Linked DNA regions of Homo sapiens: all the other regions are linked to region 4. The links are contacts of gene promoters, found by promoter capture Hi-C in blood cells and fetal thymus (Javierre and others, 2016). All regions are on one chromosome and are shown on one strand. Each heading gives the region's core, a stretch centred on a gene start or on the middle of the fragment in contact. The rest is flanking DNA. Distances are from core to core; before and after follow the strand shown. Region 1 holds the start of TRV-AAC1-5 (tRNA-Val (anticodon AAC) 1-5). Region 2 holds the start of TRD-GTC2-6 (tRNA-Asp (anticodon GTC) 2-6). Region 3 has its middle 14 kb from the start of TRQ-CTG6-1. Region 4 holds the start of H2BC7 (H2B clustered histone 7).

Region 1 (7,023 bases), core at 373-2,872, 1.6 Mb before region 4:
AAATTAGCTGGGTGTGCTGGCGTGCGCCTGTACTCCCAGCTACTCAGGAGGCTCAGGCAGAAGAATCGCTTGAACCCAGGAGGCAGGGCTGCAGTGAGCTGAGATCGTGCCACTGCACTCCAGCCTGGGCAACAGAGTGAGACTCCATCTCAAAAAAAAAAAAAAAAAAAAGAAAAAAAAAGGAATGAGGTGTAATTAAAAATAGAGTAAGTTTTATTATCCATGCTAGCAATGGGGAGAGTGGCTGGCCAAAATTTGCCACTCTCCAATTTCTGGAGAGAGGCCAAGCATTTCAAGGAGAGGAGCTTGTAATGCAGAGGGGCAAGAGGCAGGAGGTGCCCAGTGGGTGTCTCATTCTGATGGCTTATCTTGAATTATTGTTTCACCTGGTGAAGGGGCCAGTGACATTGTAGGCCCAATCAAGTTACAAATTAATGACAGTCAATCTTGCAGATAATCTCTAGCCAAGAGTGAATATTGTCCTTGAATTAATCTCCTACTGGAGAGAGAATTCTGGAGATGTCTGGTCTGCATCAGGATTCAGCCCCTGAAGCTTCTAAGGAAATATATGACCAGATAAGTGGGCATGGTATGAGCTTAACAAGCATCCAGGTAAATAAATGAGCATAAGGCATGGGGGCATAAGATGCGAAAGGGAAGGCAGTTTTAATGCCCATTCCAAGGCAGTAATTGACGACAAAAGAAAGCACATCTGCAGTTTGTCTCAAAGCTATGTCTAGAAACTGGGGAGAAAGAAGAAAAGAAACAAAGTTTTTAAAACGTGGTTTGAAGCTAAGCTGCTTGGTTACCTTCCAACCTTCTGCAAGATTTTGCTGTTTTTTGTTATTATTAAAACAAGTAATAGGCCAGGCGCAGTGGCTCACACTTGTAATCCCAGCACTGTGGGAGGCTGAGTCAGGCAGATCACTGGAACTCAGGAGTTCGGAGGGGGAAAAAAACCAAGCCTGCGCGCTCTGAGCCCCACCCCCCATTCCCCATGGTGTCTGAGTAGGCTCCCAGGGCGAGCAGGATCCCTCCTCACAGGCGAGACTGGCTTCCTTGGAAAACCAATAGTCGGACTTGCGAGTTTTCCTCCAAGATAATTTTCTCAGGGACTTCTAAATGTGGTGCTGTACGCCTATGGTCCTAGCTACTTGGCAGGCTGAAGTCGAAGGATTGCTTGAGCCCTGGAGGTCTAAGCTGTAGTGAGCCGAGATCGCGGCCACTGCACTCCAGCTTGGGTGACAGAGCAAGACTCTGTCAAAACAAACAAACAAAACACACACACACACACAATGTAAACCAGGAATAGAAGGAAACTTCCTCAACTTGATAATGCCCAATTATGAAAAACATACAACTAATATCATTCTCAACAGCGAAAGACTGAAAATTTTTCTCCTACAATCAGGAATAATGGGTGCCCACTTTCACCATGTTATTCAGCACAGTATTGGCAAGGAAAAAGTAAAATTATCTATGTTCACAGATAACATGACTTTTTTTTGAGAGAGAGATGGGATCTCTCTTTGTCACCCAGGCTGGGATGCAGCAGAGCAATTATGCCTCACTGAAGCCTCGACTTCCCTGGTTCAAGCGATTACCCTGCCTCATCCTCCGGAGTAACTGGGACCACAGGCGCCTGCCACCATGCCCGGCTAATAAAAAAAATTTTAGAGACTAGGGTCTCGCTATGTTGCCCGTGTTGCCCAGGCTGGTCTCGAACTCCTGGGCTCAGGCGATCCTCCTACCTTGGCCTCCCAAAGTGCTGGGATTACAGGTGTGAGCCACCAAGCCTGGCCGTGACATGATTTTTATATATAGAAAACCCTGAAAATTACACACACACACTCAAACACACACACACACAAACTGTTACAGCAAATAAAGAAATTTAGCAAAATAAGGATAAACAACCACATGAGTTCCAGCAGAGAGCGCGGTGGGAAGCGGAGCGCGGCCAGCTGCTCTGGGGCCCTGCAGACCCTCTGGTCTTGGACCTGAGGAGGAGACGGGGGCCCGGCCCCGCGGCGGCCTCTGCTCTGCAGGCTCCCAGAGTCCTTGCTGTGTCTCCCACCGGCCAGGCCCAGGCCTGAGGCAGCGTCGAACCTCTCTTCACTTCCCACCTCGGTGACCTGGTGGCCCTCTGGTCTTCCAGAAAACCCTGCCGGGCCTAGACTAAGCCCCCGCTGGCCGCCAGGACGCAGCGCCTTTGTGTGGCGGCGGGTGTCGGGGGCGGGAAGAATCGCGCGGAAGCTGCCGGGGTGTGCAGGGACCGGGAAGGCGGAGCTAGGGATGCAGGTTCGGTCGCCTCTTTAGGCCACTGCGCCACGCAGATTGGGTCCAGAAGGTGCCGTTAAGTTTCTTCCCAGAAACTGTCAAGGTGCTGGTATGTTTCTTGCCCTTGCACTTTTAGTGTACTAAAATCAACGGCCAAACTCTACTCTTTATAGCAATCAAAGTATTCACCCATGCGCCCAATTTCTTTGCAAATGCCAAGCAAGAAAACCTCAGGTAGATGGAGGGAGCAGATAATTTGACTTTTTTTTTCTTTAATTTCACTATAGTGTCCTCCTCCACACATACAAGGATGAAGTTTTGTTTTTTAAGATGAAACAAATTTGTCATTAATGAAAGGATTGTCAAAATCTTCCCAAAGGTCCTCAGCTTCTGAATCACCTGGAAGCTTCTAAAAATTAAGACTTGTGGGCCATACCAGAGACCCTCTGCACTAGAAGGGGGTATGGCAAGGAATCTTAGGAATAGTCCACCTGGAGAATCACTAGCGTAAGTTCTGGGCCTCACATTCCCTCAGAAGAGTCCCATGAACCTGTGGTCAGCAGCTTAGGGCTGGTCTTCTTTACTGATCTGAGGGACAATGGGAAGCTTAGGACTCCCTGCATGGCATCTCTCCCGCCCAGGGGAGAACAGCTCAACAAATTTCCTCATTAACTACAAAGTTAAATGGAAGCATATGCTATGAAAATGCCACAAAAAGCTGTTGCTAGATGAAAATGTCTAAATTTGCTTTAAATTATCATGGGGGCTTGGCAGAGGGAGGAGAGACTAATTGTTGAAGTAGGATCATGGAAATAAGGAGGTCCATAATATTCTCTATAATCTTTTTTTGTCATAAACAGGGGTTTATAAAACTACCTAGTATAGCATGGTGGTCAAGAACACCAGTTCTGGAGACAAACACACCTGGTGGTGTCCTTTCCTAGCTAGCATAACCTCAGCACATTGTTCAAGCCTTAACTTGCTCAAATGTAAACCCGAAATGACAGGGATAGATCTTGACTCAGGAGGCTTGACAAGGCTAAAAGTAATACTAAAAATAAAAGCAGTAACTACTTCTGTAAGTTGAGCACTGTCTGAAACACTTCAGGGAGTTTTTCTTAATTGAGTTTATGATAATTCTATGAGGTACACACTGTATCCATATCCATTTTACCAGCACAGACAGAGTCATGAAGAAGCCAAATAGCTTGCCTGAAACCCTACATATGATGAGAAAGTGGCAGAGGAAGGAATTGTACTCAGATATTTTGGCTCCAAAGATCCCTGCCAGATCTGCCCTGCCAGTTCATAAGGACTAAGAAGATGCCTCCTCTCTATACTACCATCCAAATGCTTCGCAATCTGTACGTCTGTTGCTCCACTTTTTGCTTATGGCATATTGGCTGCTCATGTTCCTCTTTCTTCTCCTTGAGAGTTAGGATTGTGTAATCTTGTCCTGCATGCCTCTGGTACTCCTAGTGACAACATAGGGTCACAATTGTCTGGCACATTGTTTGTAGCTCAATAATTTATTTTTCTTTTTAAAAAAATTTGAAATGGGGATCTCGCAATGTTGCCCAGGCTGTCTCGAACTCATGGCTCAAGTGATCATCCCGCCTAAGCCTCCCAAAGTGCTAGAATTACAGGCATGAGCCACTGTGCCCAGCCAATAATTTATTTTAATTAATATGAAATAAATGTGTTTACAACAATTTTTTTTAAATTAGAGATGGAGTCTCCCTATATTGCCCAGGCTGGAGGGCAGTGGCTTTTCACAGACACAATCATTGCACATGCAACCTCAAACTCCTGGGCTCAAGTGATCTTCCTGATTTACTTCGTCTCCAGAGTAACTAGAACTACAGGTACACCACTATGTCCAGTTTAACAATATTTTTTATCTTTTTTCTTTCTTTTTTTCTTTAACAATATTTTTAATGATCATTGTTGCTGCTAATCTGGTCTTGATTTGTTAATTGGGAAATACAGTCTAATTTGTTAATTGGGAATTACAGTCTTTCTTTCAGTTGTTACCCACAGCATTCCAATTATTCATGATCCAGCTACTACCAGCTCACATGATCTCAAGGTGAGAAGGGGCTCTCTGTTCCTGGCACCCATGGAAGAAAGAATACTAAGTAGAGGAAAAAGTAAGCACAGACTTTCTCCAGACTGGTCTGGCAGCCCAACCACCACCTCTAAGCACAGAGAGTGTGTGGTGTTTATATGCAAAGTGAAGTTATAAGGAGGAATCTGGAAGAAGGCAGCTTGCTTCTAGGTGTGCAGTGAAAGTAGATAGAGGAAGACAGTGAAAAGGGAGAGAAGAACAAAGAAAAGAAAAAAATACACGAGCGTTTTATCCTCCTTTTCTAAATCAAATAGCATTGAACTGTCACATTCCAGAGAAATAATTATTTGTGACATAGAATCCAATCTTGTAACCTTGTACCTGTTCCCCAGTATATCTCATCCTGAAGCTTACCTGCTCTGTAACAAATGCTAATAGTCCCAAGAGCTCAGTCTTACAGGTCCGGGTTCCTAAAAGGGTCATTTTCTGGCACTAGAAAGATGAAGATCAGAACAAGTTGCATGGATAAGATAAGGACACTATGGTAGAATTTTTTTAAAAAAATCAAATCATCTGCTCTCTACTTCTCTATCTACTTGAGGTTTTCTTGCCTGGCATTTGCAAAGAAATTGGGGCTCATGGGTGAATACTTGGATTGCTAAAATGATAAAGTTTGGCTGTTGGTTTTAGTACACTAAAAGTACAAGGGCAAGAAACGTACCACCACTGTGAGAGTTTCTGGGAAGAAAGGGCAGCTTTGAGATTATAGAACCTGGGGCATCTGGAAAAACTGTATTTTTTTTTTCCTGTAGAAGAGACATGGGACCAAAGGCAAGTTTTACTGGTATTGTGGTTATCACATTTGCCCAATACAGTAAAGACCCTTGGTTTGAAACTCAGTAAGATTTATTATTATTATTATTTGAACAGAACTCTTTTGTTTTCTCTCCTGTCCTGGACTTGAAATCGGCTTATCCAAACCCTAGAGACGCTGACACCCCGCATGCTTTCCCCTCCCACCGTTCAGGGCGTTGCCAGCTCCTCCCTCCTGCATGGTCGGCTGGGTTCCACCAGCTCCGCTAGTGTTAACAGGAGGAAGTGTCCCCCTGGTCTGCATCTCCCTGGTGATCTGGTTCTCATCCGAATGCAGACAGCGGAAAGGGAGGGTTTTCCACAAGGAGGTCGGCAAGTATTTCTAGAAAGAAAAGAGCTTCTCTTCTAATTAGAGCACCAAAGACTACGCTACAGTCAGGTGAAGTCATTAGCCAGTTATTTATTATTTTTGTTATGGGAAGCATAATGTTCTACTTTTTATAGAATTCCTTCGAATTGAGTTATCATTGAAGCTACTAGTTGGTTACAACTAAACATTAAAATGTTTATATCTTATAAACATTATATAACATTATATATAATGTTATATAAACATTATATAACATTAAAACATTTATATCTATAAATTTGAAAACTAATCAGTATTTTTTAAAGTATAAAACAATGGGAAGAACATCTAAATACTAGAAATAGGTTTAAAAATTAGTTCATAGATTCATAGATGCATAAATCTTAACAAATTACCTTTCCCAAATTAATTCTATGCCTCTTTGTATAAGTAACTACTGGGAAATATAGTTTATTATACAAAAAAGTACAAACCGATTATTTATCAAATGTTCCTCAACTTAAATTAGGACATCGAGTTTTTATATTATAAATAGTAAATGTGAAAGTGTGTAATTCACCATAATCAAAAAAAAATCGGAGGTGGGGGTGGAGGGAAAGGGGGAGAATTCAGGACTAGTCTTTTAGGTCAAAAAGAAGAAGCTTTGTAACCGTTGGTTTCCGTAGTGTAGTGGTTATCACGTTCGCCTAACACGCGAAAGGTCCCCGGTTCGAAACCGGGCGGAAACAAAGAGAGTCGCTTTTTTTTCTATCGCTAATTCTGTTTTTGAGTATTTTCATTTGAACCAATAGAATCTTTGCTTTTTGCCGAGCACGTGAACCCTCAACTTCTGTACTCCTTCCGTCACCCAGCGACGTGGCGCTGAATCCCGCGTCACACCTTTCTCTACCCCACGCCGAACCCTCACCCTCATCCTCCTTTTCTGATCTCCGTCTGAGTGACCCCGGTGGTGTCAATCCCAATAGGCACCGGAGTCCCAGAACTCCACCCGCCTGCACCTCGCAGGTGAGACAGGCTTTCTTGGAATCCAGAGAGCAGCACTTGCGGGTTTTTCGTGGAGGGGGTTTCCTCGGGGATTTCTAAGGAAGAGCGCTTCGCTTTGAGCCCTTCGGGGAATTGGATTTGCTCTTTTTTTGCTGAAGCACAGAGAGGAAACACTTTTTTTTTTTTTTTTTTTTGAGACAGAGTTTCGCTGTTGTTGCCAGGCTGGAGTGCAGTGGCACGATCTCGGCTCACTGCAACCCCCGCCTCCCGGGTTCAAGCGATTCTCCTCCCTCAGCCTCCCGAGTAGGTGGGATTACCACCACGCTCCGCTAATTTTTGTATTTTTAGTAGAGATGGGGTTTCGCCATGTTGGCCAGGCTTGTCTCGAACTCCTGACCTCAGGTAACCCACCCGCTTCGGCCTCCCACAGTGCTGGGATTACAGGCGTGAGCCTCCGCGCCCGGCCAAAACAAACTTTTTGACAGCTCTTAAACTTTCACCATGGATT
Region 2 (6,909 bases), core at 3,154-5,653, 1.3 Mb before region 4:
GGGGGGGTCAGCCCTCCGCCCAGCCAGCCGCCCCGTCTGGGAGGTGAGGGGCGCCTCTGCCCGGCCGCCCCTACTGGGAAGTGAGGAGCCCCTCTGCCCGGCCAGCCGCCCCGTCCGGGAGGGAGGTGGGGGGGTCAGCCCTCCGCCCGGCCAGCCGCCCTGTCCGGGAGGGAGGTGGGGGGGTCAGCCCTCCGCCCGGCCAGCCGCCCCGTCTGGGAGGTGAGGGGCGCCTCTGCCCGGCCGCTCCTACTGGGAAGTGAGGAGCCCCTCTGCCCGGCCAGCCGCCCCGTCCGGGAGGGAGGTGGGGGGGTCGGCCCCCCGCCCGGCCAGCCGCCCCGTCCGGGAGGGAGGTGGGGGTGTCAGCCCCCGCCCGGCCAGCCGCCCCGTCCGGGAGGGAGGTGGGGGGGTCAGCCCCCCGCCCAGCCAGCCGCCCCGTCCGGGAGGGAGGTGGCGGGGGTCAGTCCCCCTGCCCGGCCAGCCGCCCCGTCCGGGAGGTGAGGGGCACCTCTGCCCGGCCGCCCCTACTGGGAAGTGAGGAGCCCCTCTGCCCGGCCAGCCGCCCCGTCCGGGAGGGAGGTGGGGGGGGTCAGCCCCCCGCCCGGCCAGCCGCCCCCTCCGGGAGGGAGGTGGGGGGGGTCAGCCCCCCTGCCCGGCCAGCCGCCCCGTCCGGGAGGTGAGGGGCGCCTCTGCCCGGCCGCCCCTACTGGGAAGTGAGTAGCCCCTCTGCCCGGCCACCACCCCGTCTGGGAGGTGTGCCCAACAGCTCATTGAGAACGGGCCAGGATGACAATGGCGGCTTTGTGGAATAGAAAGGCGGGAAAGGTGGGGAAAAGATTGAGAAATCGGATGGTTGCCGTGTCTGTGTAGAAAGAAGTAGACATGGGAGACTTTTCATTTTGTTCTGCACTAAGAAAAATTCCTCTGCCTTGGGATCTTGTTGATCTGTGACCTTACCCTCAACCCTGTGCTCTCTGAAACATGTGCTGTGTCCACTCAGGATTAAATGGATTAAGGGCGGTGCAAGATGTGCTTTGTTAAACAGATGCTTGAAGGCAGCATGCTCGTTAAGAGTCATCACCAATCCCTAATCTCAAGTAATCAGGGACACAAACACTGCGGAAGGCCGCAGGGTCCTCTGCCTAGGAAAACCAGAGACCTTTGTTCACTTGTTTATCTGCTGACCTTCCCTCCACTATTGTCCCATGACCCTGCCAAATCCCCCTCTGTGAGAAACACCCAAGAATTATCAATAAAAAAATAAATTTAAAAAAAAAAAAAGTTAAACCAAATTTCCATTTCTAGAGTAAATCTGATTTGAATATAATGTTTTGACTTTTAAAATAATATGCTTTATTTACTTTGCTAATATTTTGGTAAAAAGTTTTGAGTCTATGTTTAAAAGAAATATTGGCTTGTAATATTCTGTTCTTGTACTCTCTTTCTGGGTTTTGGTATCAGAATTATGTCTGTGTAGTTAAATTAGCTGAACAATGTTTTCTCTTTTTCAGTTCTCTGAATAGCTTTCTGAAAGACTGATATTATTTATCTCTTACTTGTATGTGGGAATTCACAAGTGAATCTACCTACGCCTGGAAGTGTATATGAGTGGCTCTTTAAATTATGGATTTAATTTTTCCAATAAGTATAGGGCAATAAAGATTTCCTATTGCTTTTGGTGTCAGTTGTGGCATATTGTTTGTCTTTTTTTCTTTCTTTCTTTCTTTTTTTTTTTTTTTTGAGACGGAGTCTCACTCTGTGGCCCAGGCTTGAGTGCAGTGGCGCGATCTTGGCTCACTGCAACCTCCGCCTCCCGGGTTCAAGCAATTCTTGTGCCTCAGCCTCCAGAGTAGCTGGGATCACAGGCATGTGCCACCACGCCTGGCTAATTTTTGTATTTTTAGTAGAGAAAGGGTTTCACCATGTTGGCCAGGCTGGTCTCAAACTCCTGACCTCAGGTGATCCACCTGCCTCGGTCTCCCAAAGTGCTAGGATTACAGGCGTGATCCACTGCACCCGGCCATATTGTGTTTTTCAAGGAATATATCTATTTCATCAAATGTTTCACATATATTGACATAAACACATTTATAATACCTCTTTCTTGTTTTTAAAATATCTTTAGGGTGTATATATGTGTGCATGTATATATATATATATATATATATATATATACACATACACACACACACATACATATAATCTGTTTCATTCCCAATGCTAGTATTCATGTGTTATCTTACCCTCTTTTTAAAATCAGTCTTATTCAGGGTACATTCGTTTTATCAATCTTTTCAAAGAACCAAACTTTTACTTTGTTGATTTTCTGTGATGTATGTTTGCTTTCCATTTTATTGATTTCTGCACTTATTTTTAATAGCTCCTTGTACTTTTTGCATTTAAATTGCTGGCTTTTTATAGTCTCTTGAGTTAGATCATGGATTTTCAATCTTTCTATTGTTGTAATACATGTAGTTAAAAGTAAAAATTGTTCTCTATAAACAGCTTTAGATGCATTAGACAAATTATGATACGTCTTATTTTCATTATCTTTCAGCTTAAAACATTTAAAAATTTATATTGTGTTTTCTTCTTTGACCTGTAGAGTGTAGGACACAAACTGCTTTATTTCCAAACATTCAGAGTCTTCTGGTAGTTTTTCCCGGATACAACAAAGACTGAAGCTTTGTTACAATTTGTCTAGTTTAGTTTTTCCTTGCTGTGAAGGCATAGCCTTACTCCTTTTATGTGGTCCTTACTTTAAAGGTTTATCACTTAGTGCTAAGGGTTAGTATTTCTGAAGTCTCAAAACAACAGCCATTTTACCAATGGGGCTCCAACTGGGAGAGGCATGAACATCAACCTCTGTCTCCCTAGAACCATGCAGCTACTGGATCTCTACAGATCATTAGCCTTCCAGTTGCTCTTTCCTGTACTGGAACATCTTCCTGTGTAGGTACAACTTAGGAATTAGCCAGTAATATAAGGAGAATTTATAATACAAATTTGAGATCTTTCTCTGTGGTTCCCTCATCACTTGAATTTTGACCATCAAGTTCTATGCACGTTGGTAGCCCCAAACTCTGACCAGTATCTCCTTAGTCCAGCACAACTGCCTCTTTCCACATGAGGTCTATTCCACAATGGTGCAATACGGGACACACCTTCAGGAGGAAAGCACTTTCAAATGTGCAAACTCATATAATGTGCTTCCCTTCTCTCAAGGATTGTAGTTTGTCAAGCCTTGCCTGGGTTGACAGCTTATCAGTGCCTTCAAACAGTTGCTTTAAGTCGGGCTTGGTGGCTCACACCTGTAATCCCAGCATTTTGGGAGGCTGAGGCAGGTAGATCACGAGGTCAGGAGTTCAAGACCAGCCTGGCCAACGTGGTGAAACCCTGTCTCTACTCAAAATACACGCCTGCAATCCCAGCTACTCGGGAGGCTGAGCCAGGAGAATGGCTCGAACTCAGGAGGCAGAGGTTGTGGTGAGCCAAGATTGCGCCATTGCACAGCAGCTTGGGCGATAGAGCGAGACTCTGTCTCAAAAAAAAAAAAAAGCCAGAAACAAACAAACAAACAAAACAATTGCTTTATAGTTCTTATCCACGATGAATCATTTTTCTTCTAGATTAAAAAAGAAATAATAGATTAAAAGGAAGTAATAGAGACAAACGAGATTCAATGTTAGGTGAAAAGGATGAGGCATCAATCACTCTACTGTTCAATAGTGTTAACGAAAAAAAGAATCCATTGGCTGAAAGTGTTGCACAATAATATTAACTTTTAAATTTGATGGCCAAAATTTCATGACAAAAATGTTAATAATAATTATTTTTCTTTTTTTTTTTTTTGGAGACAGAGTCTTGCTCTGTCGCCCAGGCTGGAGTGCAATGCTGCAATCTTGGTTCACTGCAACCTCCGCCTCCCGGGTTCAAGTGATTCTCCTGCCTCAGCCTCCGAGTAGCTGGGATTACAGGTGCCCGCCACCACACCCAGCTAATTTTTGTATTTTTAGTAGAGATGGGGTTTCAGCAGGTTGGCCAGGCTGGTATCGAACTCCAGACCTCAGGTGATCCACCCGCCTCAGCCTCCCAAAGTGCTTGGATTAGAGGCATGAGCCACCTCGCCTGGCCAATAAGTATTTTTAAAACAAAATCAGACATATTGTTATATGCTGGAAGAGTATTCTTTCATTAAAGAAGCAATGCTGTTGGCTTTGATTATGGCTCACAAAAATATTGCTTTTAATATTCATCCATTCAGCGTTGGTCGAGGGTATATACTAGGTACACTTCTAATTCCTACCTTATTATAAAGGAGCTTAGAATGATTTGGATTTCGCCATACCTTTCCATTTTATATTGTCGTTGCTGTTTTGAAATTTAGTACCATTTGTTTTCATATTCCAACATGTAATCATTACGAAACAATGTTGTTTCAGGCATTCACTCTTTATGTAGCTTTTGTCACATGTTATGAATTTTCTTGCTCACTTATAACATTTTGAATCCCACTCCTTCATCAGTTCTAAATTCCTATTCATTAATGTAGTCGTCACTCTTGTCATATGCATTGTTCAAAATTGTATATTTGCCCTTTTACATTTTAATTCGTATATTTTCATTTATAGTTTTATTAGGCTTTTCTCCTTTTAACTTTCCATTCTGAAATTATTTTAGACTGACAGACACAGTACATGAATAATACAGATAATTCCTGAGCACCCTTCACCCCAATTCCCTCAATATTAGCACATTAAGGATATTCCTATATTTTCTTTTCCTTCTCTCTCTCATATATATACATAAATGTATATTTCTGAACTATTTGACAGTGAGTTTGAAGACACATACCTCCCCTTACCCTTAAATACGTATTTTGTAAATAGGTGTGAATTTTCTTAAAGACATTTTGTTCTATAACCATAGAACAATTAATACAATCAGGAATTCACATTCATAATATTATAAAATCTATAGACTTTATTGAGATTTCACCAACTATTTCAATAATGTCCTTTAAGATAAAAATTCCAGACCATATGTTGCTGTCATATCTTTAAGATCTTCTATAATGTGGACTATTTAGTCAGCCTTTCTTTGTGTTCTGTAACTTTGTTATTTTATTTATTTGTTTATTTATTTATTTATTTATTTATTTATTTTTCCTCCCTGCTTGCCTGTTACTAGGTTGATGCAAAAGTAATTGCAGTTTTTGAGGCGTACAAGTCAGTTATTTTGTTAAAATCTCCCTCAATATGGGTTTGTCTGATGTTTTCTGATTTAGATTACATATTTTTGCCAAGAATACCACAAAAGTGACGTTGTGCTCTCATGAGCACATCCTGTAAAAAAGGTATATAATGTAGATTCGTCCCAATACTGATTCAATCACTTGGGTAAGATGGTATCTACCCGGTTTCTCCACTGTGATGGAGATTACAGTGCAGAGTGGAAATTTTCTTGCTATTACAGAACCTCATGATTTCTACAGCTTATGGTTTTTGCGATCAGTATTTCGTTGGTTTGAAAGAACTCTGCTAAAGAAAAAGAGAACCCAACATTTGCCCAGAAGACTAGAGACTGTGTTTACCGGAAGTGTGCTTTTCTAAAAAAAAGTTTAAGCCTCCTCCCCGTCGGGGAATCGAACCCCGGTCTCCCGCGTGACAGGCGGGGATACTCACCACTATACTAACGAGGAATTGACGTGAAAATGGAGCTCTTAGGAAATCCCTGTGAAGTTACTCGCTATTGTCCATCTTTCTTTGCTCTGTAGTCACACGTTTCCCCTACCAAATATACGCAAGGCAATTCAGCGAACGTGTCTCCGCCCAACCGCGAATCCTCTCCAGTTCCTCCTTCATTCCTCGGACGCTTTGTCAGACCCTTTTAAAAAAGAACTCTCGCTAGCCTCCTTTGTGACGCACTGGTTTCCGTCTATGTTCAACCATGGTTGGAGCCCTAGCTAACATAGGAGTTACAAATCCCGAAAGGTGCATCGGTTGGTTTCAAAGACAGGAAAAGCAGAGGTGGGACCAATACCTGCGCTCCGTTGAGGTAAAATAGATAAAGAGTCTGCAGATGTATTTTTAAAGTTCAGGATGCGTCAAGTGGCACGCAGAAGCTTTATCACGAGTTCCCTCGCCCCCAAACTGAAAGCAAATATGACATCGTATTTCCTCTCTGAAGTAAATACGATTCCTCTCTGTTCTCAGTAAAACATCCCGAAGTCGGCAAAAGTTCAGGCTGCGTTAAGTGGCACGCAGAAGCTCTATTACGAGTTCCTTTACTCCCAAACTGAAAGCAAATATGACATCGTATTTCCTCTCTGAACTGTTCTCAGTAAAACATCCCGAAGTCGGCAAAAGTTCAGGCTATGTTAGGTGACACGCAGAGGCTCTATCACGAGTTTCTTTACTCCCAAACTGAAAGCAAATGTGAGATCCTATTTCCTCGCTGAACTGTTCTCAGTAAAACATCCCGTAGTCGGCAGGATTCGAACCTGCGCGGGGAGACCCCAATGGATTTCTAGTCCATCGCCTTAACCACTCGGCCACGACTACACGAATGGAGAAGGCTCCCTTCACATCTTTAAACAGAATTTACACCAGCTAACTGACAAGAAACGGTCAAAAGAACAAAATACGGTAAAAATGGTTTCCTGGGCAAGAAACTGGAGTCTGCGAGTTCATTAGAAACTCTAACGTGAAGTGCAAGTTGGATAAGACAAGCCAACCTCTCTGGGGCAGCCGCAAGGAGTCCTTGCCCTATCAGCAGTACCGTTTCCAGAAAACTAGAGACCACTGTACCTCTCTCACCTGGACCCAAACTGACCCCGCAAGGAAGTGGAATCAGACCCTCACCGTAAATCTGGGCCTGACACATTTAGTTTTTGTTTGAAACTTCCTCTCA
Region 3 (7,360 bases), core at 1,478-3,977, 1.6 Mb before region 4:
CAGTGGATAATTCATTTGAATTTGAAAAACGTAGAAATGAACCTATCAAATACCAGCGAGAGCTATGGAATAAAACTATTGATGCAATGAAGCAAATTGAAGAAATCAAACAGAAATGCCAAGCTAAATTTATAATGAACAGACTGAATAAAAATAAAGAGCTACAGAAAGTTCAGGATATCAAAGAAGTCAAGCAAAACATCCATCTTATTCAAGCCCCTCTTGCAGGCAAAGAGAAGCAGCTGGAAGAGAAAATGGTACAGCAGTTACAAGAGCATGTAGGCATGGAAAACACATCTTAAAAATCTCTGTAACCATTTCTTTTATGTACATTTGAAAATGTCCTTTACAGACTTGGAACTGCTAAATTATTAGTTTATTTTTTACATAAGGTCACTTAAATGAAAAGTGATTAAAACATATCTTTCCTACATTGACATCTGCAAAACATCAGATATTACGAATGTTAGATTGCATCTCAGTGTTAAATCTTCACTGATAGATGTACGTATGTAAATCATGAAAATTCTACTTCTAACTATAGAAGTGAATTGTGGATGTAAAATGGTTATGCTATTTGGATAATGGCACTAGGCAGCATTTGTATAACAACTAATGGCAAAAATTCATGGCTAGTGATGTATAAAATAAAATATTCTTTGCAATAAAATATTCCGTTTATTAACGTTACAGAAGGGGGGATACAACAAGGAACTAACAATTTGTATAACAGTGTCAAATGTTATTTTGATTTTAGTATTTCCTGTTTTGGTTTATTTGTATCTTAGAAGAGCACAATGACATTGTTTGATGAAGCCTAATTATTCTGGACTGTTTTGACCTGGTTTAACCCTTCTGATAGGTAGTTGTGGATATTGGGGATGAGAACTGAATAATCTTTGCCTGGAGTGACACTACACTCTAGAATTTCCATTTTGGAGAATACTCAGTTCTAACTTGTGACTGCTGGTAGAACAAACTTTATTTTTCTAGCCTAGCAATGTTCTAGAAGCAGAGGAATCCCAGTGCCTTTTAAAAGTTATTATATGGTTTTCTTTTAAAAAGCTCCTGTTTTTGGAAAGTAGAATTTATGAGTATAACATCTGTTCATTATTTGCACATAAAATGAAACCATTTAAAAAGAAAAAATAAACAGAAAAAGAAAATAACAAATGAATAAAATTCCTTTATAAAATGTTTAAATGGGCGACCACGTGACCAAACATATCTGAAGCTTTGTTTTCCCAGGAATATGGCATCAAGCATTGGTTATAAACTATTTTAAACAATTTCAGTATTAGCTGGTTTAACATGAAATTATTTTCTTGATATTTAATTAAGTTTTTGTTTTACTTGGGTTAGTAGCTTTATACAAGAAAATTTGGTTGTTTCTGCAGTTTACAATAACTTAACATAACTATAATTAATAGCTTATACTATTTTAGAAATCCCATACAATTTTGAAATATATATTAGTATTATTCACAAAAATATAGCCTAAAGAAGATTGAGCATCATTTTGGCAATCCCATGTACCTAAACGTGTCAAATAATCCTGTTTACCTGTCTTTTCTGGACACTTCAGGGGCCCGCTGAAGTATTCAAAAAGCCAGGTGCCAGGGAAGAGATTTTTGAAACCGATGTTTGATTTTGGGAATTCCAGATTGCTATAAGTTATTTATTTTGCCAAAACGATGACTCAGAAATTTTAAAGAAGCAAAGACCTTTTATAACCCTTTTGTATTTAGTCAACATGTTCACACAGAGAACCTCTTCCGTTAAAAAAAAAAAAAGTAAAACATTCACATGCTTTCAAAAGTTAAAGGTATAACAAAAGGTAAACTCAGAGAAGTGGCGTCCCATGTCCCTTACACTCCATTTCCCCCAAGTCTCTTACCACCATTTTAGGTAGCCAGATTCACTGTTTTCTGGTTTATCTTCACTATGTTTTCTTTTCAGAAAGAAAAACAGGTATGTGTATGTTTTCTTAATTCCCCTTCCTTCTTGAAAAAAGGTAGCCTACTATAATATTCATCTGCACTTTCTTTACTTAACACTATCTCCTAGAAATTATATCTTTTTTGTAGCCCCATAGCGCTTCCTCTTTGAGTCCATGTTACAGTTTATTCAACCAATCTCTTATGCCTGGACATTTAAAGTTAGTTAAAATGCTTCTAGAAGGTAAGCAGACAAAATAAAGATTATTGGTCTTCTGAGTTTGCCCATGGAATTCTGATTCACAAAATGCTTTAAATGTACCCCTATGTTTTCTACCATTTACATTTTTTAAAAAAATCTATCCAAGTAGAATCAACCATTTTACACTTAACTTCATTGTTGCTTCTCTTTCTCATAACATTCCATGTGTCTAGTTTCTGTAAGTATGGAAGGAGGAGGGTATAAATGATGTCTTTTGGCCATCGTAACAGATAGCTTTAGAGAAGAATTCACAGTACACGAAATGAATTTAATAAATCATGCATAGAGATGAACAAAAGAGCAAAAGAAGCAGGAGGCTCCCGTAGAAGCAAAAAGACAATAACGATTTACAATAACCAATGGTCTCAGGCAAAAGTCAGTAACAGTGTTTTGCCTTCGAGTGCAAGAAAATATAAAATTATATTCAACCTCAGTGTATTTTCTATTCACTGGAAGATAGGTAATTTGTTGGAAGTAAACATGAGAATTGTCACCTCCTCTTCCCAAGTAAGATATGCCTTTCCAAATAAGATATGAGTAAGAAAGGAGTTACGCAAACATTTGGAGAAAGGAGAAGGAACATGCTGAAGACATATCTAAAAGTGAGATACAGCCTCTGAAAGGACTTTTAAGAGAGAGAGAGCGAGAGAGAGAGAGAGATATAATATATATAATATATATTTAGAGGCCATCTTCTCCCCACAACTGTGGAAGGTAATTCCTCAAGAAGGGGGGGGGGAAAAAAAAAAAAAAAAGCACCCTTCTTTAGCAGAGGATGGTTTAGATCCATCGACCTCTGGGTTATGGGCCCAGCACGCTTCCGCTGCGCCACTCTGCTAACGGAAAACACGCTTCTACTCTTCTTATTTATCATGCAGGTGATCAGCCATTTTGTTGTTGTTGTTGTTGTTGTTGTTACACTGTTTTGCCTCTTTCTGTTTTTCTTTCACTGTTTCTTTCCCGGTTTTTCTTTTTTCCTCTTGGCCTCTTAAGATCAGCTCACTCTAGAACCAGTTGATTCCAACAATCCCCTTCAAGTTGCGAGTTGCCCTTTCCAAATCTACCAAACATGCTTCAAAACCTGACATTTCTTTCTTTAAGAGCTGCTTTGGGCTCAGGAGCAGAAACAGGAGAAAAGTCAAGCAAAGCCCTCAGAAGCCCTTAGAGAGAATCGAGGAAGGCATTAAGTCAGACTACTCTCCTTAGAGAGAAAGTATATTAGCCAGTTCGCTTGTTTCCTGTCCCCAATAAAATTTCTTTCCCAACACTAGAAGTATTTTTGCGTATTGACCTAGAAGTATTTTTGCATATTGACCTAACGCCTTTTGCAGCTTTCCGGGCGCCTGGTGTACCCACGCAGCCCCACCTTATCCCCACCCCTATCCCTGCCGTTGAATTCATAAAAAGGGGCTTCCTACCCTAACCCTTTGGTGTTATGTCTGCGGACAGCTTTCACTTTCAGCGAATGTGGGCTTTCCCAGCCAAGGGCCCAAACAGAGACCTTTGATACTCCTTCATCCTGTGCTATGTCAAGAAAGTCCCTTCTGAAACTTTTATTTTGCTCTTTTCACCAACTTGCTTTTCCCGTTTTCTCAGAGTTTCTCTGTCTTCAGGAAAGCCTTGTGTTTCCAGTTCCAGGTCAGGCATAGGATTGGTGGCCATTACTCTCCACCAATTTCATTTACGTTTTCTTTCTTTTTTTTTTTTTTTCCTTTTCTAAAAAGACAGGGTGAGACACTGAGGCAGATATACTGGGGTTAGGAAGATATCCCAGAATAAGAGCATGAGAAAGCAGGCTGGAATGGTTCATGTGGACAAGATGAGTCCTAAGCAAAACTGAACCAGGTCCCACCAGGACCTGACGTGGGGCCACTAGATTTGGAGCCATGGGTATTAACTATCACAGCAGGGAGCCCCAACCCCTGGGCCACTGACCCGGTACTGGTCAGTGGTAGTGGCAGCCTGTTAGAAACCGGACCACACAGCAGAAGGTGAGCAGCAGGAGAGCCAGTGAAGCTTCATCTGTATTTATAGCTGCTCCCCATCACTCTCATTACCGCCTGAACTCCACCTCCTGTCAGATCATCTGAGGCATTAGATTCTTATAGGAGTTCTAACCCAATTGTAAACTGCCCATTTGAGGGATCTATGTTGCCCACTCTTTATGAGAATCTAATGCCTGATGATCTGTCACTGTTTCCCATAACCTCCTGATGGGACCATCTAGTTGTAGGAAAACAAGCTCAGGGCTCCGTCTGATTCTACATTATGGTGAGTTGTATAATTATTATATATCACAATGTAATAATAGAAATAAAGTGCACAATAAATGTAATGCATTTGAATCATCCTGAAACCATTCCCCTCTCCCCCAACCCCTGTCCATGGAAAAACTGTCTTCCATGAAACCAGTCCCTGGTGCCAAAAAGGTCTGGGACCGAGGCATCACAGCACTGAATTGCTGCTTACACTACAGGTGTTGCCAGAGGGCTCAGAAGGGTTTCCAGAAGCCAGTGAGACCCCAGCCCCAGCCCCAGCCAGTTTCCAGGTTCTTGACACCTTCGTAAGAAAGAATTCAGGGAGGAGTCAGAATGAAGCCAAAGGCAAGAAGCTTTTATTGCTAAGCAAAAGTACACACTTAGGGAAGTGTGGGTGAGCTCATGAGAATGAGTCGTGCCCAACAGAGTTTGAGTTTTCTATTTTTATGGGCTCTTGTAATTAGAGGGTGGACTAATCATGAGGTTTTCTGGGGGAAAGGCGAAGGTTTCATAAAATTGAGATGCCACCCATTTTTATATTAAATATGGGCGTACTCGATCTGTCAGGGCGCTGGTGGGTGTGTAATTTCGTATGGTAATTAGCATATAATTAGGTCTTGGGTAGGGCATGGGTCAAATCCAGCGCCATGTTGGACCCAGACGGTTTCAGACAGCTTAGCCACCATCCTGTTTGTTAGGGTCTTATCAGCCCAAGTTCTTTCTTGTCCTTGTAGCTAATTTTAACAGCTCCTTTTTTGCTGTTATGTGAAATTACTGCTTGATGTTTCTCCTATGACTACCCAGCATTCCTATCAAATAGAGATGAGATTTATCACCTTCCTTGTTCCCCTGGCCCTCTCACTCCACTAGCATGAACCCTTCAGTGACTCAGGTGCCTGATCTCAGCCTCTTTCAGAAAATAATCTGAGTGGAAAAACATTTTTATAGCCGCAAGCCAGGACTCCTCCCCTCCCCTCCACCAAATGCCCTATTTTCCTCTCAAAGGGGTTTAGGTCTGTGTTGCATGGGCCTTCTCTGTGGGGAAAAGCAAGAGAGATCAGATTGTTACTGTGTCTGTGTAGAAAGAAGTAGACATAGGAGACTCCATTTTGTTCTGTACTAAGACAAATTCTTCTGCCTTGAGATTCTGTTAATCTATGAACTTACTCCCAACCCCGTGCTCTCTGAAACATGTGCTGTGTCAAACTCAGGGTTAAATGGATTAAGGGCGGTGCAAGATGTGCTTTGTTAAACAGATGCTTGAAGGCAGCATGCTCGTTAAGCGTCATCACCACTCCCTAATCTCAAGTACCCAGGGACACAAACACTGCAGAAGGCCGCAGGGACCTCTGCCTAGGAAAGCCAGGTATTGTCCAAGGTTTCTCCCCATGTGATAGTCTGAAATATGGCCTCTTGGGAAGGGAAAGACCTGACCGTCCCCCAGCCCGACACCTGTAAAGGGTCTGTGCTGAGGAGGATTAGTATAAGAGGAAGGCATGCCTCTTGCAGTTGAGACAAGAGCAAGGCATCTGTCTCCTGTCCGTCCCTGGGCAATGGAATGTCTCGGTATAAAACCCGATTGTACGTTCCATCTACTGAGATAGGGAAAAACCGCGTTAGGGCTGGAGGTGGGACATGCGGGCAGCAATACTGCTTTGTAAAGCATTGAGATGTTTATGTGTATGCATATCTAAAAGCACAGCACTTAATCCTTTACCTTGTCTATGATGCAAAGACCTTTGTTCACGTGTTTGTCTGCTGACCCTCTCCCCACAATTGTCTTGTGACCCTGACACATCCCCCTCTCGGAGAAACACCCACGAATGATCAATAAATACTAAGGGAACTCAGAGGCTGGTGGGATCCTCCATATGCTGAACGCTGGTCCCCCGGGTCCCCTTATTTCTTTCTCTATACTTTGTCTCTGTGTCTTTTTCTTTTCCAAGTCTCTCGTTCCACCTTACGAGAAACACCCACAGGTGTGGAGGGGCAACCCACCCCTTCATTCTCTCTTCACTAGAAAACCAGTGAGGAAGTGGAAGGAGGAGACTGAGCACCTGCCATGTAATATGCAGTGGTGTACCTCACTTAATGTGCAGCAGGAAGAGCCGCAGACAAAACCCCTCAGACACCGAGTTAAAGAAGGAAGGGGTTTATTTGGCCTGGAGCATCGGCAAGACTTCTGTCTCAAGAACCGAGCTCCCTGAGTGAGCAATTCCTGTCCCTTTTAAGGGCTCACAACTCTAAGGGGGTCCACATGAGAGGGTCGTGATCAACTGAGCAAGCAGGGGGTGCATGTTTGGGGGCTGCATGCACCAGTAATCAGAACGGAACAGAACAGGACAGGGATTTTTACAATGCTTTTCCATACAATGTCTGGAAACTATAGATAACATAACCAGTGTTAGGTCAGGGGTTAATCTTTAACTACCAGGCCCAGGGCGTGGCGCCGGGCTGTCTGCCTGTGGATTTCATTTCTGCTTTTTAGTTTTTACTTCTTCTTTCTTTGGAGGCAGAAATCGGGCATAAGACAATATGAGGGGTGGTCTCCTCCCTCATTCGCTCACCTCATTAAAAGTGATGAGGCTGTCTTTGTCTTACAGATGAGAAGACTGAGGCATAAATCTGTGACCCTTCACCTGTATGTTTCAATTTCATGTCTATGTTTATCAGGATGCTTTTTTGTTTGTTTGTTTTTGCAGAGGGTGGGGAACAGGGTCTTGCTCTGTCACCTAGGCTGCAGTGCAGTGGCACGATCATAACTCACTATAACCTTGACCTCCTGGGCTTAAGTGATCCTCCTACCTCAGCCTCCCCAGTAACTAGGACTACAGGCCCACACCACCACACCTGGCTAATTTTTTTATTATTATTTTTTGTGGAGATGAGGTCTCGCTAGGCAT
Region 4 (7,295 bases), core at 4,563-7,062:
CGGTTACGCAGTGTCTTGCGGTTTTCCCACTTATGTCGAAAACCATGCATTTTTAGGTACTCAAAATAAAAGTGGTAAGGTAAACAGACACTATTACCCTAGCCTTTTCAGTGCAATCTAAGGCCCTACTACAATAAACATAAAAGGATCGTAGCCTAAAAAATCGTATGCCGAAACCCCAAATGTAATTTGGAACGAAAAAAAAAAAACGGCTGAAAAATATACGTACCTGTTGACAGGAACAATTAACTTATAAAGAGACCAACCAATCGTCTAACAAGTCATGAGCTCTTTTGCGGAAAACTGTGGGCGGCCCTGAAAAGGGCCTTTGATTTGGGAAGTCGAGATGCTGAGTCGTTTAAGCGGTAGCATTAGCCGCCGAAGCCGTAAAGAGTGCGTCCCTGTCTCTTCAGCGCGTAGACCACATCCATCGCTGTCACTGTCTTGCGTTTGGCGTGCTCCGTGTAAGTCACAGCATCACGAATCACGTTTTCCAGAAACACCTTCAGAACCCCGCGAGTCTCCTCGTAGATGAGACCAGAAATGCGCTTGACACCCCCGCGACGAGCAAGGCGCCGGATGGCAGGCTTGGTAATGCCCTGGATGTTATCTCGCAGGACCTTACGGTGACGCTTAGCGCCTCCTTTACCCAGTCCCTTTCCGCCTTTGCCGCGACCAGACATGACCAACACACCAACGAAAATAGCCGCAAAAATCTGAAAAACAAGCGACGGTAGTATTCTTATATGCCGGGAATTCGGACCTAAATGAAGACTGAAAACGCGCATACGGGAACTTTGGTGCTGCCTGCTGGCCCTACCCTTCACAGATCAGACTGGGATGACGTCACCAACGACTCCAGTTCCCGCCGGCAGAGTCCGCTCTCCATGGAGTCATCTCTGCAAGTCTTGCGTTCCCAAAGAGGAAATTTAGGCATATTTTAACAACTAAATGAGATTAAATACATTAACATGTTTAAAATCATTTGCTGCTTGGGATGCTCTAGGACGATTGAACAGGAGCTTTGGCTCACAAGACCGGAACTGCAGTAATCTCCTTCCATGAGGAGTTCAGCTTTGTCCCCATAGGCACGGTTCCTCTGGCATTTCTGCTGCTTGCTCTCTTGGGGACGGAACCCCCTTAGGAAGTGTTTGAAAACTGCAAGATCTCACCCTCTCCACCACCAAGCCAAGGGAAATCTGACCAAAAGGATTTTCCTCCCGAAGAGAAAAACACGGATAATTAGTGATCCCGCCGGGCGTTGTGGCTCACGCCTGTAATCCCAGCACTTTGGGAGGCTGAGGCGGGCGGATCACCTGAGGTCGGGAGTTCAATACCAGTCTCCAACACGGAAAAACCGCATCTCTACTAAGAATACAAAATTAGCCGGGCCTGGTGGCGCATACCTGTAATCCCAACTACTTAGGAGGCTGAGGTAGGAGAATCATTTGAACCCAGGAGGCAGAGGTTGCGGTGAGCCCGGATCACACCATTGCACTCCAGCCTGTGCAACAAGAGCGGAACTCCGTCTCAAAGAAAAGAAAAAAAAATTTTTGATCCCATGAATTCTGGTCCTCGCTGTGGACGCCCGTATTACATTTTTGGCTTATTTTTCTTTCTTCCCTGTTTATTAAAATTTATAATTATCATTTAAATATCTAGCCAACTCGCACATCTAAACCTAGAAACTCACTGGTGTGTTAATGTTTACTTCTCTATTGTTAGTTTTCTGTTCTCTTTGATGCTGGTAGCAGCCTTTATCACAAGAGAATTGGCAACGTGTAATGGGCCAAGTTATTAAATAGGCGACTTCCTACAGGCTTTTAAAATAAAAGGTGTTGGGACTCAGAAAACAATGCTACAAAATGAAGGCCTCCGTAGTAACTTTTTCTCCTTCTCCTACCTTCCTCTTTCTCCCTCCCATTCTTCCCCGAAGCTAGCTATAGGAACTAGACTGCTTCCTTCCCAAGATGGAACATATAAACCAAAGCTAGACTCAAAGCTAGCCATAAAACCTAAAAAATATGAATCCAACTTTCCTTCTGCCTTTTTGTGTAAAAACTGGCAGTAAAGAAATTGCCTGGCCTACCTCGTTTGATTGTAGGTCATAAGACCCCGATTCAAGAGAGGGCTTGTCCTATTCCCAGGAGGAGAGAATGCTGCCCAAGAAAGTCCAAGAATATAGACAGGCCTTGCTGGGCTATTATCATTAGCTCAGTCTATTAGCATTAGCTCGTACCCTTTGTGTCCAATCATATTTCTACACAGCTGTCCCTACTTTGTTGAATCTAAGCATAAAAATGTATGATTTCCCCTGTATCTTTGAGTCTTCAGTTCGAAGGCTACTGGGTACATGTTAGTTAATTTGTATGCCCTGCTAGGCATGCAAATGTTAGGACTTCTACTGTGAAAAGAAATCAAATATGTAGAAACTAAACAAAAAGGAACTGTAAATTGCTGCTGTTAAAATGCCAGCAATATCAAAACTCTGTGAGACTGTGATATTTAGGAAGAATTTACATGCTTCTATAATAATTTTAATAGTATTTACATATTTGTATTATATATATAAAATTGTAATTTAATAGAACATTAGTTAATACATTACTGAATTTTTTTTTTTTAAGTTTTTTCGGCTGTAAGTTTATTCAATGCAAAACAATCCTCTCCAGTTTTACTGAGGTGGCTGACCAGGCCCACGACCAAATCTGCCTCTAAACTGGAATTCGGTTGTTGACCCAGCCCCAGCCTTGGCTTTCTTGTCAGCACCAGGGGACACAGCACTCCGTCTGTAGGTATCTCTGTCGGCTTCCCCTCTTGTGAGTCTTGCAGGTTGCTCACCCTCCAGACCTTCAGGCGGAGGCCTGCCAGTCTCTGGACGGCTGTGGTGTAGGGTGGCAGGCACAATCTCTGTGGGCAGATGAAGGTAATTACAGAGATACTGGATGCCCTCATTGGTAAGGTACCACTAGAAATGTCTCCAGGCAAACTGTTCCTTCAAGTAGCCCTGGGACTTGAGAGACTGCATGGCCTTCATGACACGAAGGTTGGGCACATTCTTGTCTGCCATTTCTAGGTGCTTAGGCATATGGACATCCTTCTTGGCCACCATGACTCCCTCCTTAAAAAGGAGTTCATAAATGGCAATCCAGTTCTTCTTACGCATCAACATCTCAGCAGCTGTAGGGTCCCGGGCTGGGGCTGGTACATTACTCAGTCTTTAAACTTGCATGGGTGTATTGGTTTCCTATTGCTGGTTTGAAAATTTATCACATTTTATGATTAAAAAATACAAATTTGTAATTATATAGTTTTAAAAATTGGGACTCAGTCACAGATCTTACTGAGCAAAAGTGTCAAGGTGTTGGCTTGATATTAAGTAAAGAAATAAAGAGCCTGTATCTTTTCCCTTGCCTTTTTAACTGATAGATGCCACTCTCTCCTTAGATCATGGTCCTTTTCTTTCATTTTCAAAGTCTGCAATTTATGGCCAAATTTTTCTCATGCTGCCATATCTCTAGTTCTCTATTCCAATTCCCTCTTCCACTTTTAAGAATCTTTGTAATTATATTGGGCTAATTCATAACATGCAATATAATCTCCTTACTTTAAGGTCAGCCAATTAGTAGCCTTAATTCCATGGAAACCTTAGTTGCCCTTTGTCATGTTACCTAACAAAGACTCCAGGAATTTGCAGACTCCAGGGATTAGGATGTGGTCATCACTGGGGTATCCTTATTCTGCTTAACATTTTTAGAATCTGATAGAAAGCTATATAATTTGTTCTGGGAAGGGGAAACACATATGGCCACATTTCTGCATATAATTTCAGAAACTTGTTGTATTCCCCTCAAGCTGATGTAGACCTTAGTTTAGATATTTACTTCTGGAACTACAGAAAGCAAAAATCGACTGCTATGCCAATGTAAATTGGCACATGAAGCCATTTAGTATTTTTAGTTTTCATTTTCCTAGGTTTTTCTTGTTGCTTTCATTTTTTCAGTTGGGTTTTGTTTATTTGAATGTTTATATATGCTTTGCATGTGCTGTGTTCTGTGTCCATTTATGTGCCGGACAGGGAGTGGGAAGTTGAAAAATAATTATGGGACGGGTGTGGTGGCTCACGCCTGTAATCCCAGCATTTTGGGAGTCTGAGGATGGTGGATCACCTGAGGTCAGGAGTTCGAAACCAGCCTGACCAACATGGTGAAACTCCGTCTCTACTAAAAATACAAAAAATAGCCGGGCATGGTGGTGCGCGCCTGTAGTTCCAGCTACTCGGGAGGCTGAGACGGGAGAATCGCTTGAACCCGGGAGCCAGAGGTTGCTGTGAGCCGAGATTGCGCCATTGCACTCTACTCTGAGCAACAATAGCGAAACTCCTCCTCAAAAAAAAAAAAAAAGTAATAATATAGAATACTATTCCTTTTTTCTTAACTGGGTTGAAATTCTAAGAATCTTTTATATATAATATTTTAAATATTTTTAAGATACAAAAACATTTTGTAAAAATTTTAAGTATTCTACACTGGATGCCATTCATAACAGTTTATGATCTTAAGTAAGGCTTGTAATTACCAAGAATACAGTAAAACTTCAGTATCTTTATATATGAGTATATAGAATAGAAAAATTGTATTTGTAAGTAGAATGACATAAATTATTTTTTCACTTAAAAATTACAACTTTTGCTTATTAGAATAAAATGAACACATATGAAGTCAACCCTGAAGGAAAAAAAGTCAAAAACAACTTTGAGGAAGTGACAAGAAAATATTTTAGGATTAGGGGTGTGTCTCATTACTCCCAAATGGTATTTTGCCAGTGGCCAAATTTTCTTTAACTAAACCAAGAACAATGTTGATTATTAGTGCTGCATCCAGGCTCGGGTGTTCACATTTTTTCAGTTTTCATGCACATTACTTGTCTTGCTTTCCTTATATTTTAAAGAATTTGATTACATTATTTTAACCAGCTAAATTCGCCAATGCTGCGATGACTAAACCGGAATTAAGGAAGACATTCCTTTCCCTCACACTATGTCAGTAGCAAAAGAGATATTTCAAAAGTTCTTTTCTTATGAAACCAATTTGACAAGGGACACATCACAGCACAACATAAGAAAAATGTGCTTATCAGCACAATGGGCTAGCCTTCTAACCAGCACTTGGGGTAAAACAAACATGCTACGGTTAAGTATAGCATTTTCCTTCAACCAGTCAAAAGAACTGTGGTCTAGACCTACACAGCAGCAACCCCCTCAAATGAGGATAAAACCAAACCTGTTGGTGGTAAACACGGAAAATATGCAGGTAATTACAACTCTATAGCTGAAAAAGTGGGTGGCTCTTAAAAGAGCCTTTGGGATTGGGTATGAAGACGTTAGAATTACTTAGAGCTGGTGTACTTGGTGACGGCCTTGGTGCCCTCTGACACGGCGTGCTTAGCCAGCTCCCCGGGCAGCAGCAGGCGTACGGCCGTCTGGATCTCCCTGGAGGTGATGGTGGAGCGCTTGTTGTAATGCGCCAGGCGGGAAGCCTCGCCAGCGATGCGCTCGAAGATATCGTTGACGAAGGAGTTCATGATGCCCATGGCCTTGGATGAGATGCCGGTGTCGGGGTGGACCTGCTTTAGCACCTTGTACACGTACACGGAATAGCTCTCCTTGCGGCTACGCTTGCGCTTCTTACCATCCTTCTTCTGCGCCTTGGTCACCGCCTTTTTGGAGCCCTTTTTTGGAGCAGGAGCGGACTTAGCAGGTTCAGGCATGATAAATAAACACTTCGTCCACAACCTAAAGAGAAATGCAAGTGTCCTCACTCTGCAGCTGGTAATATTTGTAGAGCTCCTATCGTAAACTGGCATTTAAAAGCTTACACATTGATTGGATGAATTGTCTCTGTGTGCCCTGTGGTATGCAAATTAGGTGATTCTAGCGTTTCTTTGCAATTGGTTGGTTGTTCTAGCCAATCAAATAGCGTTATTTACAATTCGACCTCCAAGTATAATAGTTTCTCACTTGCTAACAAAATTCACTTTTACATTTTTGTCTTCATTGCTTAACATCGTTTTTAAGAATTCAAAATGTCCGGACGCGGCAAGCAAGGCGGAAAGGCCCGAGCTAAGGCTAAGACCCGCTCTTCGCGGGCCGGACTCCAGTTCCCTGTGGGCCGCGTACACCGCTTGCTCCGCAAGGGCAACTACTCCGAGCGAGTCGGGGCCGGCGCGCCAGTGTATCTGGCGGCGGTGTTGGAGTACCTGACCGCCGAGATCCTGGAGCTGGCGGGCAACGCCGCCCGCGACAACAAGAAGACCCGCATCATCCCCCGACACCTGCAGCTGGCCATCCGCAACGACGAGGAGCTAAACAAGTTGCTGGGTAAAGTCACAATTGCTCAGGGCGGTGTTCTGCCCAACATCCAGGCTGTACTGCTCCCCAAGAAGACTGAGAGTCACCACAAGGCCAAGGGCAAGTAAAACGAGAACTCTTATATTGGCTTTTTAAGGAAGCAGTCTTAACAAAGGCTCTTTTCAGAGCCACCCATGTATTCCTTAAAAGGGCTCACATTTTCTGTGTAAATAGCTATTTTGCAGTTTTCTTTAATAATTTTTCCATTTATAAGTGGGTGTTCTTAACACTGAATCGTGAAACTAACCGTCCATTTTAAAGATGCCATAAAAATACATAAGCAAATTGGCGGGGCGCGGTTCCTTACGCCTGTAATCCCAGGACTTTGGAAGGCCAAGGTGGGCGGATCACAGGGTCAGGAGTTCCAGGACAGCCTGACCAACATGGTGTGAAGCCCCGTCTTTACTAAAAATAAAAAAATTTGTCGGGCGTGGTGGCGCGCGCCTGTAATTTCAGCTATTTAAGAGGTTGAGGCAGGAGAAAATGTTGAACCCCGGAGGCGGAGGTTGCAGTGAGTCGAGATCGCGCCACTGCACTCCAGTTTCGGCGACAGAGCGAGACTGTCTCAAAACAAACAAAAACCCAAAAAAGCAAACTAATTAAAATGCAAAGAGACTTTATGTCACATGTAATTTAAATCGATCAATGCAGCGGCTCGTTAGGATTGCAAAGCTGTTAAAAGGCCTGAGACATACAGGAGAGAAGTTAATGTTTGTCAGTGTTTACATTTACATAAAAATATAGTTAGTGACTTAAAGCAACAGAACCAGAACAAATGTTTTATTGTCTTTTGTATGCATCTTAATGATACGAAATAACCTGTAATTTGTAAGTATTTTTTGGGTTTGTTTTTGCAAGCCACTTTCAACTCTACTGAGCTAACCCT

The links. Contacts are between HindIII fragments. The CHiCAGO score rates a contact against its expected background, and 5 or more counts as called.
Region 1: a fragment that was not itself captured here is called in contact with the fragment with the promoter of H2BC7 in region 4 in 2 of 17 cell types (M0 macrophages and monocytes); the score reaches 7.7 in M0 macrophages.
Region 2: a contact is called between a fragment that was not itself captured here and the fragment with the promoter of H2BC7 in region 4, in 1 of 17 cell types (naive CD8 T cells). The highest score is 7.2, in naive CD8 T cells.
Region 3: a contact is called between a fragment that was not itself captured here and the fragment with the promoter of H2BC7 in region 4, in 2 of 17 cell types (M2 macrophages and M0 macrophages). The highest score is 8.3, in M2 macrophages.

The regions. Positions count from the first base shown.
Region 1 is chr6:27,752,636-27,759,658 of GRCh38, reverse strand. TRV-AAC1-5 (tRNA-Val (anticodon AAC) 1-5) reads left to right here and starts at 6,187; the gene lies at 6,187-6,259. RefSeq lists a silencer at 6,084-6,223 and enhancers at 6,674-6,763, 6,934-6,993. The HindIII fragment of the contact is 2,133 bases long and covers 556-2,688 here.
Region 2 is chr6:27,478,463-27,485,371 of GRCh38, reverse strand. TRD-GTC2-6 (tRNA-Asp (anticodon GTC) 2-6) reads right to left here and starts at 5,698; the gene lies at 5,627-5,698. TRS-AGA2-2 (tRNA-Ser (anticodon AGA) 2-2) reads right to left here and starts at 6,560; the gene lies at 6,479-6,560. RefSeq lists a silencer at 5,586-5,645. The HindIII fragment of the contact is 3,440 bases long and covers 2,684-6,123 here.
Region 3 is chr6:27,773,562-27,780,921 of GRCh38, reverse strand. It overlaps the pseudogene RSL24D1P1. Among named protein-coding and RNA genes, the nearest start is that of TRQ-CTG6-1, 14 kb to the left of the region's middle. RefSeq lists a silencer at 2,980-3,039. The HindIII fragment of the contact is 2,981 bases long and covers 1,237-4,217 here.
Region 4 is chr6:26,198,033-26,205,327 of GRCh38, reverse strand. It overlaps H2BC7 (H2B clustered histone 7), which reads right to left and starts at 5,812. Exons shown (of 1, transcript NM_003522.4): 1 at 5,340-5,812. The coding sequence starts at 5,769. The coding sequence ends at 5,389. H2AC7 (H2A clustered histone 7) reads left to right here and starts at 6,035. Exons shown (of 1, transcript NM_021065.3): 1 at 6,035-6,544. The coding sequence starts at 6,085. The coding sequence ends at 6,477. It overlaps H4C5 (H4 clustered histone 5), which reads right to left and starts at 718. Exons shown (of 1, transcript NM_003545.4): 1 at 307-718. The coding sequence starts at 683. The coding sequence ends at 372. It also overlaps a transcript of H3C4 not described here and the pseudogene RPS10P1. RefSeq lists enhancers at 5,371-5,460, 5,452-6,071, 6,231-6,410, 5,344-6,543, 6,591-6,660 and 5 more. The HindIII fragment of the contact is 6,177 bases long and covers 1-5,874 here.